3 separate regions of the Homo sapiens genome follow, and all the other regions are linked to region 3. The links are contacts of gene promoters, found by promoter capture Hi-C in blood cells and fetal thymus (Javierre and others, 2016). All regions are on one chromosome and are shown on one strand. The core of a region is centred on a gene start or on the middle of the fragment in contact, and the rest is flanking DNA. Distances in the headings are between cores, read along the strand shown.

Region 1 (4,646 bases), core at 1,862-4,361, 190 kb after region 3:
GTCTGCAGAGAAGGAGCTCTCCAACCCTCAACCTTGAGACTCACCATCTCCAAATTTGCTGAACTTGGCAAAGCTCTGGAAAACAGCCCCGGCCTGGGATGTGAGTGTGATGCTGCTGTTCCAGGGTTCTTGGCTAACGTGGTGGCCCTTGACCACATTCTCCAAGTCGGGGAATTCCTGGGCAAAGATCCCTTCCAGCTGGTAGTTATAGACCCAGGGGTAGGTGTAGGTCAGCTGCTTGCCTGGAGGACAAGGGGAGGAGGAAATGCAAGATCGTTCCAGGTTCTGGTCAGTAAACCCAGGACTCATCCTGTGTCCCTGACTCGACTTACCCATCTTCGAGAACTGAGCGAAGGGAAAAGACACACAGAGCAGGGTCTGCCCGTAGGTACAGGCGCTATGAGGCCAGCTGTATGCAGCAGAGGAGGCCGGTGGAGGGAAGTTAGGTACACTGTGGACCAGCCAGAAGCCCCCATCGTGGTCAAGGAGCAGGACACCTGGACCAAAAGAAGGCATTAGGGGAGGTCGGGCGCAGTGGCTCACGCCTGTAATCCCAGCACTTTGGGAGACCGAGACACACAGATCACCTGAGGTCAGGAGTTAGAAATCAGCCTGGCCAACATGGCGAAACCCCATCTCTACTAAAAATACAAAAATTAGCTGAGCGTGGTGGTGGACGCCTGTAATCCCAGCTACTCAGGAGGCTGAGGCAGGAGAATCGCTTGAACCCAGGAGGTGGAGGTTGCAGTGAGCTGAGATCCACCACTGCACTCCAGCCTGGGCCACAGAGCAAAATTTCATCTCAAACATAAGTAAGTAAGTAAGTAAATAAATAAATAAATAAATAAATAAATAAAAATTTAAAAAAAGAAGGCAGGCCCCACGCAGTGTAATCCCAGCACTTTGGGAAGCCGAGGAGGGCGGATCACCTGAGGTCGGGAGTTCAAGACCAGCCTGGCCAACATGGAGAAACCTCATCACTACTAAAAATACAACATTAGCCGGGCATGGTGGTGCATGCCTGTAATCCCAGCTACTCGGGAGGCTGATGCAGGAGAATCACTTGAACCCAGGAGGCGGAGGTTGCAGTGAGCCGAGATTGCACCATTGCACTCCAGCCTGGGTAGCAAGAGCAAAACTCCTTCTCAAAAAAAAAAAAAAAAAAAAGGCAATTAGAGGGTATTGCTCCAGGCCTCCCAGCAAGCTCATCTGCAATCAGGAACACCCTCAGTTTGCAGCGGGGCTTAGAGAGGGTGCCAGCAGTGTTAGAACCACAGCTGAGCTCAGTTTTTGCAGGCATAAATTCTTATAGTCCAGAATAACGCCAAGAGTAATGTAAGGTAGGGAAACAGGCCAGGTGTGGCGGCTCATGCCGGTAATCGCAGCACATTAAGAGGCCAAGGTGGGTGGATTGCTTGAACCAGGACTTAGAGACCAGCCTAGGCAACATGGCAAAAGCCCACTCTACAAAAATACAAAAAGTAGGCCAGGTGTGGTGGCTCACGCCTGTAATCCCAGCACTTTGGGAGGCCAAGGCAGGTGGATCACCTGAGGTCAGGAGTTCAATATCAGCCTGTCCAACCTGGTAAAACCCCATCTCTACTAAAACATACAACATTTAGCTGGGCATGGTGGCGCACACCTGTAATCCCAGCTACTCCAGAGGCTGAGGCAGAAGAATCGCTTGAACTGGGGAGATGGAGATTGCAGTGAGCTGAGATTGCACCACCGAACTCCAGCCTGGGTGATGGAGAGAGAGTGCCGCAAAAAAAAAAAAAAAAAAAAAAAGCCAGGCGTGGTGGGGGGTACCGGCAGGCCCAGTACTTGGGAGGCTGAGGTAGGAGGATCACCTGAGCCCTGGGAGGTCAAGGCTGCAGTGAGCTGTGATACTGCACTCCAGCCTAGGTGACTGGGTGAGACCTTGTCTAAAAGAAAATAAAATAGGGGAAATAGATGCCCAAGGTCTGACAGGGGAGATCTCCCACCCCACTATGGAGGTCAGGGGTTAGCTTGGAAAAATGCATAGGAACTCGGCTGGGCAGGGTGGCTCATTCCTGTAATCCCAGCACTTTGGGAGGCCAAGGCGGGTAGATCACTTGAGGTAGAAACCAGGAGTTCGAGACCAGCCTGGCCAACATGGTGAAACCTCGTCTGTACTAAAAATATGAAAATTAGCCTGGTGTGATGGTGCGCCTTTAATACCAGCTACTTGGGAGGCTGAGACAGGAGAATTGCTTCAACCCCAGAGGCAGAGATTGCAGTGAGCCAAGATTGTGCCACTGCACTCCAGCTTGGGTGACAGAGCGAACTCCCACCGTCTCAAAAACAAAGAAAAAAAAAAGTTGGGGGGAATAGATGCCCAGGGTCTGACAGTGCAGATCTCCCCGACCACCCCATGCACGTCAGGGGTTACCTTGGAAAAATGGGACCCGAGTCTCTCCCCAGCCCCCAATCCAGGCCTCACCCTTCGTGTGCCCACGCATGGAAGAGTCCTGAGCCTTGCTGGGTTGAGGCGGTTGGTCATTGTAGAGCAGGAAGGCGAGCTGCGGGCGGATAAACGGAGGCAACGTGAAATTCCTCCCAGGCAGGGCAGCCCTAGAGTTTCGCCCCTAGTTGGCCCGGGGCCCCCTTCACCTGGCTGGTGTTGCTCCGGTACAGCGGCTGCAGGCTTCGGCCCACGGCCCCCTCCGGGCTGTTGATGAGTGCCCTGCCGTCCCGCCAGCCTCCGGAGCTCTCGTCCAGATACTTGTACTGCAGCCCTCTCTGCGCCGCCTCCCCGGACCCTCTAAGAGCTGGCAGCTTGTAGACCACGAACCTGGAGGTCGGAGAATGCACAGAAATAGGAGAGAGGGAAGAGAAGGCACCCCAGGGTTCCCCGAGGAGGTAGCCATCCCGGTTGAGTGACCGCAGCCGGACCCCGGGGCGATGGTAGGCCCCCCGCTGCGCACTCACCAGTCTACAGGCTGCCCGGAGTCCCCGTAGCAGGTCAGGGCCCCGGCGGGGACGCACAGCAGCGCTGCCAGCAGCAGCGGGATCATAGCTGCTATGGGGCTGAGATCCAGGAATCTGTGTCGGGACTGCGGGGCGCTGGGTTACATCAGAGGCCAGGACTGGCACCTGGCGCCTTTCACTTCCCTAAACTTGCCTGGGAACCGGGGCGGGGACATCACGAGGGTACAGACTCCTCCCCCGAGACGCGATGCTGCGTTTTGGAGAGGCAAAAGGCAACGCTGAGTCTGCCCAGACCACGCCCACGACGGGCCCGGCGCTCCAGCGTCTCCTGGAGCCTGGCCACCGTTCCTTTTCGTGGTAGCTAATCCCAGCCCACGCTCTTCTGTCTGACCCAACTCCCGCCCGGGTTTCTGGATCAGGCACAAGTTTGTATTTTATTTTTTATTCCAGCCCTACAACCTGGGTCCAACTCTTGGGACCTTTGTTCTTCCTCTTTTTTTTTTTTTTTTTTTTTTTTTTTTTTTGAGACGGAGTTTCACTCTTGTCGCCCAGGCTGGAGTGCAATGGCACGATCTCGGTTCACTGCAACCTCCGCCTTCCTGATTAAAGCGATTATCCTGCCTCAGCCTCCCGAGTAGCTGGGATTACAGGCGCCCGACACCACGCCCGGCTAATTTTTGTAGTTTTAGTAGAGACGGGGTTTTTCCATGTTGACTAGGCTGGTCTCGAACTCCTGACCTCGTGATCCACCAGCCTCGGCCCCCGAAAGTGCCAAGATTGCAGAAGTGAGCCACTGCGCCCCTTAAGAAGCATTTGTGTTCCAGTGTATCTTCCCCTTTTTCTTTCTTTTTTTTTTTCCTTCCTTTTTTTTTTTTTTTTTTCCCGGACAATATCTCGCTCTGTTGCCCAGGCCGGAGTGCAGTGGCGCAATCTTGGCTCACTGCAACCTCTGCCTCCCCAGCTCAAGTGATCCTCTCACCTCAGCCTCCCGAGTAGCTGGGATCACGGGCACATGCCACTATGCCCAGCTAATTTTTGTAGTTTTTTTTTTGAAACACGGTTTCACCATGTGGCTCAGGCTGAACTCCTGAGCTCAAGGGATCCACCTGTCTTGCCTCCCAAAGTGCTGGGATTACAGGCATGTAATCCACGCCACCCAGACTCTCCTTTTTCATTCTGCACGTTTTCTCCAGGATCCCCTGAGCTAGCAAAGAGGTGACTGTATGTTTGTTTTTTGTCGTTTTGAGACAGGATAATGGTTTCTCACCCAGGCTAGAATGCAGTGACTCCATCACAGTTCACTGCAGCCTCAACCTACTGGGCTCAAGAGATCTTCCCAGGTAGCTGGTACTACAGGCCTGTGCCACCACACCCAGATAATTGTTCATTGCAGAGATGAGGGTCTCACTATGTTGCCCAGGCTGCTCTGGAACTCCGGGGTTCAAGTGATTCTCCCACCTCAGCCTCAAAGGATCATGGCAGGGCAAAGGGCTATGGGAATCTGAGTACTGGCTTGAAACTGCCTTTGCAAAAATTATGACAGAAAATTATGTCAGTGAAAGAGCTCTGACCTAACCAACTCCATCTTGCCTTTAATCTCCAAACTGCCCTTGCTTGGTCATTCCTGGAGTGGGGTCAAGCTAACTTTTTTTTTTTTTTTGACACGTTGTCTCACTCTGTCGCCCAGGCTGGAG
Region 2 (4,376 bases), core at 554-3,053, 230 kb after region 3:
GTAGCTGGGACTACAGGCGTGCACCACAACACCCAGCTAACTTCTGTATTTTTAGTAGAGACGGGGTTTCATCATGTTAGCCAGGATGGTCTCCATCTCTTGACCTTTTGATCCACCCCCCTCGGCCTCCCAAAGTGCTAGGATTACAGGCATAAGCCACCATTCCTGGCTTTTTTTTTTTTTTTTTGAGACAGCGTTTCGGTCTTTTTGCCCAGGCTGGAGTGCAATGGCGCCATCTCAGCTCACTGCAACCTCCACCTCCTGGGTTCAAGCGATTCTCCTGCCTCAGCCTCCTGAGTAGCTGGGATTACAGGCATGTGCCACTATGCCCAGCTAATTTTGTATTTTTAGTAGAGACGGGGTTTCTCCATGTTTGTCAGGCTGGTCTCAAACTCCCGACCTTAGGTGATCCACCCGCCTTGGCCTCCCAAAGTGTTGGGATTACAGGTGTGAACCACTGCACCTGGCCAATATTTTTTAATAAATTGGCCCGACATTCTGGCCCGCCTCTAGTCCCAGCCATTTCGGAGGCTGAGGTGGGAGGATCACTTGAGTCTGGGAGGTGGAGGTTGCAGTGAGCCGTGATCATGCCACTGCGTGGTGACAAAGCAAGACGCTGTGTTAGGAGGGAAAAAAAAAGCAGCAGACACTGGCATAGCCTTGTGGAAGAAAAGGGTGAATGAGAGGGACCCAGGGGCCTGTGTAGACCCATAGGGCTGGGATCTTCCTCACCTAGCTGGCCCTCCACCAGCTTCCTCCTCGCAGTTCTCTTCCCACCGCGGATGCTCCTTGCTCTCCCCCAAGGGCTGCGGTTCCTGGTCTTTGCATTTCACATGGGGCACGTCCACCTGCAAGCACAGTCAGGACGGAGGCCAAGGAGGGAGGATGAGGAGTGAACAGATCGCCCTCCTGCCGACCCTTCAACCCTGGTCACCTCGATGTGCTGCTGCGGGACGGTGGGGACCCGCAGGAAAGACGGGCAGGGCTGGGGCAGGTGCCATGAGGGCAGGGGCATGGGGTGAAAGGACACTCTGTCCCTAGGGGACACCAGGACACCAGACCTAGAGGGGCCGGGTGAGGGCAGGGCTGTGGGAATGTAACTGGAGGACCTGGGCTCCTAACTGGTATGTGTGTTGGCTGGAGTCCTTCGAGAAAGGAGAAGAGGTAGGAGAAAAGAGATGAGGCCGGGCGCGGTGGCTCACGCCTGTAATCCCAGCACTTTGGGAGGCGGAGGCGGGCGGATCACGAGGTCAGGAGTGCGAGAACAGCCTGAGCAATATGGTGAAACCCCGTCTCTACTAAAAATACAAAAATTAGCTGACGTGGTGGTGCGTGCCTGTAATCCCAGCTACTCGGGAGGCTGAGGAAGGAGAATCACTTGAACCCGGGAGGCAGAGGTTGCAGTGAGCCGAGATCACGCCACTGCACTCCAGACTGGGCGACAGAGTGATACTTCGTCTCAAAAAAAAAAAAAAAAAGAAATGAAAGAAACGGGTGCGGTGCGTGGGTGTTTGTGCCTTTCTCTACTCCGTTCCGGCCACGCGCCATGTGTGGAAATCAGACCCGTCAGTGCGTCAGTCAGGGCCGGGTTCAGTCAGTCAGGAAATTTGAGGCCAGGCCTGATGAGAGGGAGCCCCAATGGCAAAGGACAAGCGGCCGGGCTCGGGTCCGCTGGAGATGGCTGGGATCGCAGCCGTTCCCTGCCTATCTGTCCGCCCGCCCCACGCGCGAGAAGGAAACAAGCGCCGCGTACTCCCTGTCGCTCCATTCCGTATTTTCCCGCCTTCAAGCTCGCACCCTCTGCGCATGCGCCGACCCCGCCCCTGGCCAGCTGCGCTCCCGCGGACGAGTGTGTTGTGACGCGTGCTCCCGGCCCCGCCCTCTTTGAGAACTTGCGCGGCCAACTGGGCGGGGCCGACCGTTAAGCAGCAGTTTCGCGGTCCGCGGGCTGCGCGCGCAGTCGGCGCCCCTTGGGAGCAGGACGGCGCGCTCTGGGTGCGCTTGTGTGCCCCTGTGAGGCTCCTGGGTTCCACGGGGCGCCCAGGTTATACGGATCTCAGAGTCCTGTATTTATTCGGTGCTTCTAACTTCATCCACTCTGCCTTGGAAAATATACTCCATAACAATTTTTTTTTTTTTTTGAGACAAGATCTTGGTCTGTCGCCCAGGCTGGAGTGCAGTGGTGCGATCACAGCTCACTGTAGCCTCGACCTCCCAGGTTCAAGCGATCCTCCTGCCTCGGCCTCCTGAGTAGCAGTGTCATTCACCAGGCCCTTCTAATTTAAAAATATTTTTCTGGCCGGGCGCGGTGGCTCACGCCTGTAATCCCAGCACTTTGGGAGGCCGAGGCGGGTGGATCACCTGAGGTCATGAGTTCGAGACCAGCCTAGCCAACATGGTGAAACTGTCTCTACTAAAAATACAAAAAATAGCCGGGCGTGGTGGCGGGCGCCTATAGTCCCAGCTACTCGGGAGGCTGGGGCAGGAGAATTGCTTAAACCCAGGACGCAGAGGTTGCAGTGAGCTGAGATCATGCCACTGCACTCCAGCCGGGGTGACAGAGTAAAGCTCCGTCTCAAAAAAAAAAAAAAGATTGTATGTATATATACACACACACACACACACACACACACACATAATTATATTTTTTTTTCCTGTAGAAATGAGATCTCACTGTGCTGAGCCCAGGCTGATCCCCAACTCCTGGGCTCAAGCCGTCCTCCCGTCTTGGTCTCCCAAAGTGCTGTCTCAAAAAAAGAAGAAATTATCTGATCTACCCTATTGACTGTAGGTCATAAGACCCCCGTTTCAAAGAAGTTTCTGCCCCACACAAGGCCTATCTATCTAGATTCTTCTTGGCCTCTCTGAGCATGCATTCCTGAGACTCCAAGAAGAATCTAGACAGATAGGCCTTGCTGGGTTTCCCCACTCAGCCTATTAGTATTAGACGACCCCCCCGGCTTTTTTTTTTTTTTTTTTTTTTTGTCTTGCTCTGTTGTCCAGGCAACACTGGAGTGCAGTGGCAAGATCTCAACTCGCTGCAACCTTGGCCTCCCAGGTTCAAGCGATTCTCAGCCAACCAAGTAGCTGGGATTACAGATGCACCATGCCCAGCTAATTTTTGTATTTTTAGTAGAGATGGGGTTTTTCCATGTTGCTCAGGCTGGTCTCAAACTCCTGGCCTCAAGTGATCCACCCGCCTCAGCCTCCCAAAGTGTCAGGATTACAAGTATGAACCACGACAAACCCTTTTTGTCCAATCAAATTTCTACCTGGGTGTTCAAACTTTGCTGAACCTAAGCATAAGACACTTTTCATTAATCAGGCATGGTGGCGGGCACCTGTAATCCCAGCTGCTTGGGAAGCTGAGGCTGCTGTGAGCCAAGATCGCCCCTACACTCCAGCCCAGGGAACAGAGCCAGACTCCGTCTCAAAACAAAACAAAACAAAAACACAGTTTCCCCTGTATCTCTGGATCTTCATTCTGAAGGCTTGTCAGGTAACACTATGATCAAATACATTCGTATTCCTTTTCTCTTATTAATCTGCCTTTTCTCAGTAATTTTTAGTGAAACTTCAGAGGGCAATAAGGAAGCTTTCTCTTCACCCCTACACAGCCAAAGTTCAGATTTGATGGAAATGGCAAGATTCCAGGGTACTTGTGTTTATTTAGACACATAAATATGTATTTAACGACAGGGTCTCACTCTGTTGCCCAGGCTGGAGTGCAGTGGTGTAATCACGGCTCATTGCAGCCTCGACCTCCCAGGCTCAAGTGATCAACCTCAGTCTCTGGAGTACCTGGGATTACAGGCATGAGCCACTATGCTGAGCTAATTTTTGTTTTCTGTTTTTGGGGGACAGGTCTCACTCTGTGGCCCAGACTGGAGTGCAGTGGTGTGATCTCAGCTCCCTACAACCTCCACCTCCTGGGTTCAAGTGATTCTCCCACCTCAGCCTCCCAGATAGCTGGGACTACAGGTGCCTGCCATCATGCCTGCTAATTTTTGTTTTTTGTTTTTTTTTTTGGAACAGAGTCTTCTTCTGTCACCCAGGCTGTAGTGCAGTGGCACAATCTTGGCTCACTGCAACCTCCACCTCCTGGTTCAAACGATTCTCGTGCCTCAGCCTCCCGGGTAGCTGGGACTACAGGTGCTCACCACCACGCCCAGCTTTTTTTTTGTATTTTTAGTAGAGACGGGTTTTCACCACGTTGGCCAGGCTGCTCTCGAACTCCTGACCTCAAGTGATCTGCCTGCCTCAGCTTCCCAAAGTGTTGGAATTACAGGCGTGAGCCACCACGCCCAGCCTAATTTTTTTTTTTTTTTTTTTGAGACGGAGTCTTGCTCTATTGCCCAGGCTGGAGTGCAGTGGTG
Region 3 (4,935 bases), core at 85-2,584:
ATTATTAGTAGAGACGGGGTTTCACCATGTTGGCCACGCTGGTCTCAAACTCCTGACCTTAGGTGATCCGCCCGCTTCAGCCTCCCAAAGTGCTGGGATTACAGGCATGTGCCACTGTGCCTGGCCCAGGAACTCTTTTTTTTTTTTTGAGACAAGGTCTTGCTGTGTCATCCAGGCATGAATGCAGTGGTGCGATCATGGCTTATTGCAGCCTCCACATCCCAGGCTCAAGCAATCCTTGTACCACAGCTTCCCAAAGAGCTGGGACTACAGGTGCATGCCACTACACTCTGCTAATTTTTTTTTTTTTTTTTTGAGATGGAGTTTTGCTCCTGTTGCCCAGGCTGGAGTGCAATGATACGATCTCGGCTCACCACAACCTCCGCCTCCCGAGTTCAAGCAATTCTCCTGCCTCAGCCTCCCTAGTAGCTGGGATTACAGGCATGTGCCACCGCGCCAGCTAATTTTGTATTTTTAGTAGAGCCGGGGTTTCTCCATGTTGGTCAGGCTGGTCTCGAACTCCTGACCTCAGATGATCCGCCTGCCTTAGCCTCCCAAAGTGCTGGGATTACAGGCGTGAGCCACTGCATCCGGTCTTTTTTTTTTTTTTGAGACATAGTATCGCTCTGTCGCCCAGGCTGGAGTGCAGTGGCATGATCTCGGCTCACTGCAAGCTCCGCCTCCCGGGTTCATGCCATTCTCCTGCCTCGGCCTCCCGAGTCGCTGGGACTACAGGTGCCCACGCACCACGCCTGGCTAATTATTTGGTATTTTTTGTAGAGTCAGGGTCTCCCATGTTGCCCAGGCTGGTCTCGAACTCCTGGGTTCAAGCAATCCTCCTGCCTCGGCCTCCCAAAGTGTTAGGATTACAGGCCTGAGCAACTAACTGCACCCTGGCCCAATAACATTTCTAAGTCAAGTTCTGCAAGAACTCAGCACCAGTGGTGGTTTGAAGCCACATGACAAGTGATTAAGAGTGTGGCCTCTACTTTGTGACCTGGCAAACCATATCACCTCCCTCAGTTCATTCATCAGCAAATTGGGCAGAAAACATCCCTTGCCTCAGGAGCTAATATGCACAGGGTGCTGAATGCTGACTTTTTGCCCACCAATCCCGCTGAGGAGGGCAATATTGTGTATCTCATTTTACAAATGGGGAAACTGGGCCCCAGAGAGGTTGAGTTTCTCACTCAAGGTCACACAGCCAGGAAGCAGCACAGTGAGAATTTGAACCCAGCATCCTGGCCCCAAGCCCAAGCTCTCAGCTACCGGCCTGACCACCTTAGCGACTGGTGGAGATGCTCCTCCACAGCCACCTCTCACGAGATGACAGTCATGCTCAGAGTTGGCTGATCTCCAAGGGTAGTCTCATAACTGCTTTACACTGGGCCTCTCAAGGTGTACCTGACGTCTATTGAGCACCTACTGTGTGTCAAAGCCTGAGCTTGGCTGGGCACCGTGGCTCATGCCTGTAATCCTAGCATTTTGGAAGGCTGAGTCAGGCAGATCACTTGAGGCCAGGAGTTTGAGACCAGCCTGGCCAACATGGCGAAACCTCGTCTCTACTAAAGGAAAAAAAAAAAAAAAAAAAAAAAAAAAAATATATATATATATATATATATATATATATATACACACACACACACACACACACACACACACACACACACACACACACAAAAGAAATTAGCTGGGCATGGTGGCACATGCCTATAATTCCAGCTACTCAGGAGGCAAGGTTGCAGTGAGCTGAGATTGTGCCACTGCACTATAGCCTGAGCAACAGAGTGAGATTCCATTAAAAAAAAAAAATTAGCTGGGCATGGTGGCAGGCACCTGTAATCCCAGTTACTTGGGAGGCTGAGACAGGAGAATCACTTGAATCCCGGAGGCAGAGGTTGCAGTGGGCCGAGATCATGCCATTGCATTCCAGCCTGGGTGACAGAGGGAGACTCTGTCTCAATAAAAATATAAATAAATAAAGGCCAGGTGACTCATGCCTGTAATCCCAGCACTTTGGGAGGCTGAGGCGGGCAGACCACGAGGTCTGGAGATCGAGACCATCCTGACCAACATGGTGAAACCCTGTCTCTACCAAAAATAAAAAAATTAGCTGGGCATGGTGGTCCTAGCTACTCAGGAGGCTGAGGCAGGAGAATTGCTTAAACCTGGGAGGCAGAGGTTGCAGTGAGCCGAGATTGCATCACTACACTCCAGCCTAGCAACAGAGTGAGACTCCATCTCAAAAAAAAAAAAAAAAAATTAGACAGGTGTGGTGGCATGCACCTGTAGTCCCAGCTACTCAGGAGGCTGAGGCAGGAGAACCGCTTGAACCCGGGAAGCAGAGGTTGCAGTGAGCTGAGATCATGCCACACTCCAGCCTGGGTGACAGAACGAGACTCCGTCTCAAAAAAAAAAAAAAAAAAAGCCTGAGCTTAATGCATGTCCACATTAATGCATAATGCATCTCCTTCATCCTCATCCTAATCACCCACTGGACAGAAGTAGAAACTGAGGCACAGAGAAGTCACACATCTCACTCAAAGTCACACCAAGGTTAGAAAAGTCAGATTCAAATCTATGCGGTCCTGTACCAAAACCTGGGGCCTTAACCAAGATGCCCTACTCAGGCCTCATACCTCCTATCCCCACCTGACTCCTCACCTCATGGGTACTATTTCGCTTAGTGCCTAAGGTCTTGATCAGAACCTGGTTGGACTCCGTCCCCAGCTGCCGCAGGTCCCACAAGTTGACGTTGCGATCTCGGGAGCCCGACAGACAGAGTGACCCACCCTGGAAAGGGAGCAAGGTGATGTTGTCAGGGCCACCCTGGCCCACCCTGCCTGGCCCCCCACAGACCCCGTCTCACCTGGAGCAGCAGCACTGAGTCAACGGAAGCCACGTGGCCTTCGGCCAGGCAGAAGTATTCGACCCAGCGCCCATCCTCTGCCCAGCGGGACAGGTGCTGCTCCAGCGCAATGCAGGCTGCCGGCCAGTCAAAGTTCTTCTCTGTGGGTTACCACGAGTAGGGTGCCCAGTGGGCAGGGACCCTAGCACCCATGCCAGCTGGCCAAGCCCAACCCTGGCTTCCAGGGAGCCCACACTACACCAGACTTGGACAGAACCCCATGGAGATCCCTACTCCCACCCCAAGCCGACCCAGGCTGTGGTCTTGGGACCACCTGCCTGCCCATTTCCCAGGCAGGTCTAGGACTACTCACTCCAATTTCCAGAAATTGGGAACTGGGGTCTCAGAACTACCTCTCCAGGCGCCATCCCCCAACCCAAACTCAGGGCAGAGCAGTCTCAGGATGTTGAGGTCTGACCTCAGGCTCAGCATAGAAGCTGGGACCTCATGACTAACCCTTCCTGCCTCAGCCATCTGAACCAGACCAAGGGGGCTGTTTCTCAAACAGTATCTGGAAACCAGGGAGCCTTGTCAAGATGCAGAATGCAAGCCCCAGATGCAGATTCTGTGATATGGACGGGGTCCAAGCATCTATGTTTATTAAGCTGTTTGGGAGAGTCTGACCTGGGGGTTGGATGGCAACACCTTGAGAATCACTGATCCCGGAGTGATCCTGATTCCTCTCTAAGCAGAATCAAAGCTTCCAGGTTAAGGGTATCAAACACCCAAGCTGTAATACATCTTGGCTTAAGGGCCTGAGGATCCAGCTGTATCAGGATCAACAATATCGATTCAAAGGTCCCAAGCTGTCTTCCCTCAGGAACCAATCAACTCAGGGCCAAGAGCCACTGTCTCACCCCTAACTGGGTCAAGGCTCTAGGGCTCAGGAGTTTTGACATCAACAGGTGCTGTCTCAGCTTCTAAGCTGGACTCAGAACCTGAGGATCCTTGGGCTCACTTTGAGCCCCAGCATAAACTCCAGAGCCTAAGACTTCAAGTCCCTGTGTCAATCCCCAATCAGGGGTCAGTGGCTTAGTACCACAAGACCCCAAGACTGAGGATATTTGGATCCTGAGTCGTCCAGGAACCACAGCCCCATGTTAGGGTTTCACAGCCTCAGGACCCCAAGTGCCTGACTGCCTCGTGGTCCACCCAGAGGTCCTCAGGGGCTTCGGCACCACCAGTAACTACCTTAGCCTCCAGCCTGAGCCAGGACAGCCACGAAGCCTGCACCAGAGGCTGCATCCGGAACACCCCATGTACCTCTTCCCCGCCCCAAGCCTGACCTGGGCGGGCGCCCCCGGCCCCCGGTCCCCGGCCCCCGGCCCCGCGCACCTTCCACCACTGGGTAGGGCGCGCGTACGCGGCGTAGCGCGCGTAGCCTCCAGGTGACATGGTCAGACACGAGGTCGCGGAGCGCGTGGCACACCCGCGACAGGACGTGGAGCACGAGGCGGGCGTCCAGGTAGGAGCAGATCTCGAGCAGCAGCTCCGGGGGAAGGCTCAGAAGGCCCGGCTCACTTACGGCCGAAACCCTGGACGCGGCCCGAGGCTCCGAAGCGCTCGGGGACGCGGCGGGTGTGGATAGCTGCGAGGGGCGCGAGAACGCCAGCCCGGATTTTGGCGGACTGAGAACGCGGGCCACGTAGGCCTTGGCCTGCGCGTCTGGGTCTGTCTCTGACTCTGGGTCCGAGTCATCGTCCCAGGTGCGGGAATCATCGCACCGCCCTAGGGGAAGCTCCATTGCGACCGGGTGGGCGCTGCCGGCCTCGCGTCTTGTCTCCTAGGCAGCACGAGGGCACTTCCGGCGCTGTCTGATGACGTTTATGCGCCCACCGGAAGCGACGAAGTCAGACACTGGCTTAATACAGAACATCGCCCCGCTTACAGGGTCTCTTGCAACTGCGTCGGCCTTAGGCTGGAAAATGCAGGTTCCTGTTTCTGCGCTTTTTAAACTAGCCGATACCGAGAGCCAGCCAACTCTAGCTAAAAACGAAACTCAAGCCAGGCGGGGTGGCGCGCGCCTG

The links. The method cuts DNA at HindIII sites, captures the fragments that hold promoters and counts their contacts. A CHiCAGO score of 5 or more calls a contact.
Region 1: the fragment with the promoter of DNASE2 here is called in contact with a fragment that was not itself captured in region 3 in 4 of 17 cell types (erythroblasts, activated CD4 T cells, M1 macrophages and 1 more); the score reaches 6.3 in erythroblasts.
Region 2: a contact is called between the fragment with the promoter of SYCE2 here and a fragment that was not itself captured in region 3, in 3 of 17 cell types (neutrophils, M1 macrophages and naive CD8 T cells). The highest score is 5.6, in neutrophils.

Annotation. Positions count from the first base shown.
Region 1 is chr19:12,878,338-12,882,983 of GRCh38, forward strand. It overlaps DNASE2 (deoxyribonuclease 2, lysosomal), which reads right to left and starts at 3,112. Exons shown (of 6, transcript NM_001375.3): 1 at 2,953-3,112; 2 at 2,635-2,815; 3 at 2,465-2,543; 4 at 333-497; 5 at 45-242. The coding sequence starts at 3,038. RefSeq lists enhancers at 2,643-3,270, 2,930-3,039 and cis regulatory regions at 2,934-3,494, 4,234-4,646. The HindIII fragment of the contact is 8,211 bases long and covers 1-4,646 here.
Region 2 is chr19:12,917,490-12,921,865 of GRCh38, forward strand. It overlaps SYCE2 (synaptonemal complex central element protein 2), which reads right to left and starts at 1,804. Exons shown (of 6, transcript NM_001105578.2): 1 at 1,754-1,804; 2 at 733-848. The coding sequence starts at 1,768. MIR5695 (microRNA 5695) reads left to right here and starts at 2,831; the gene lies at 2,831-2,915. RefSeq lists an enhancer at 1,484-1,623. The HindIII fragment of the contact is 4,677 bases long and covers 1-3,593 here.
Region 3 is chr19:12,691,930-12,696,864 of GRCh38, forward strand. FBXW9 (F-box and WD repeat domain containing 9) reads right to left here and starts at 4,702. Exons shown (of 10, transcript NM_032301.3): 1 at 4,244-4,702; 2 at 2,870-3,009; 3 at 2,665-2,793. The coding sequence starts at 4,652. RefSeq lists an enhancer at 4,612-4,661. The HindIII fragment of the contact is 4,543 bases long and covers 1-3,606 here.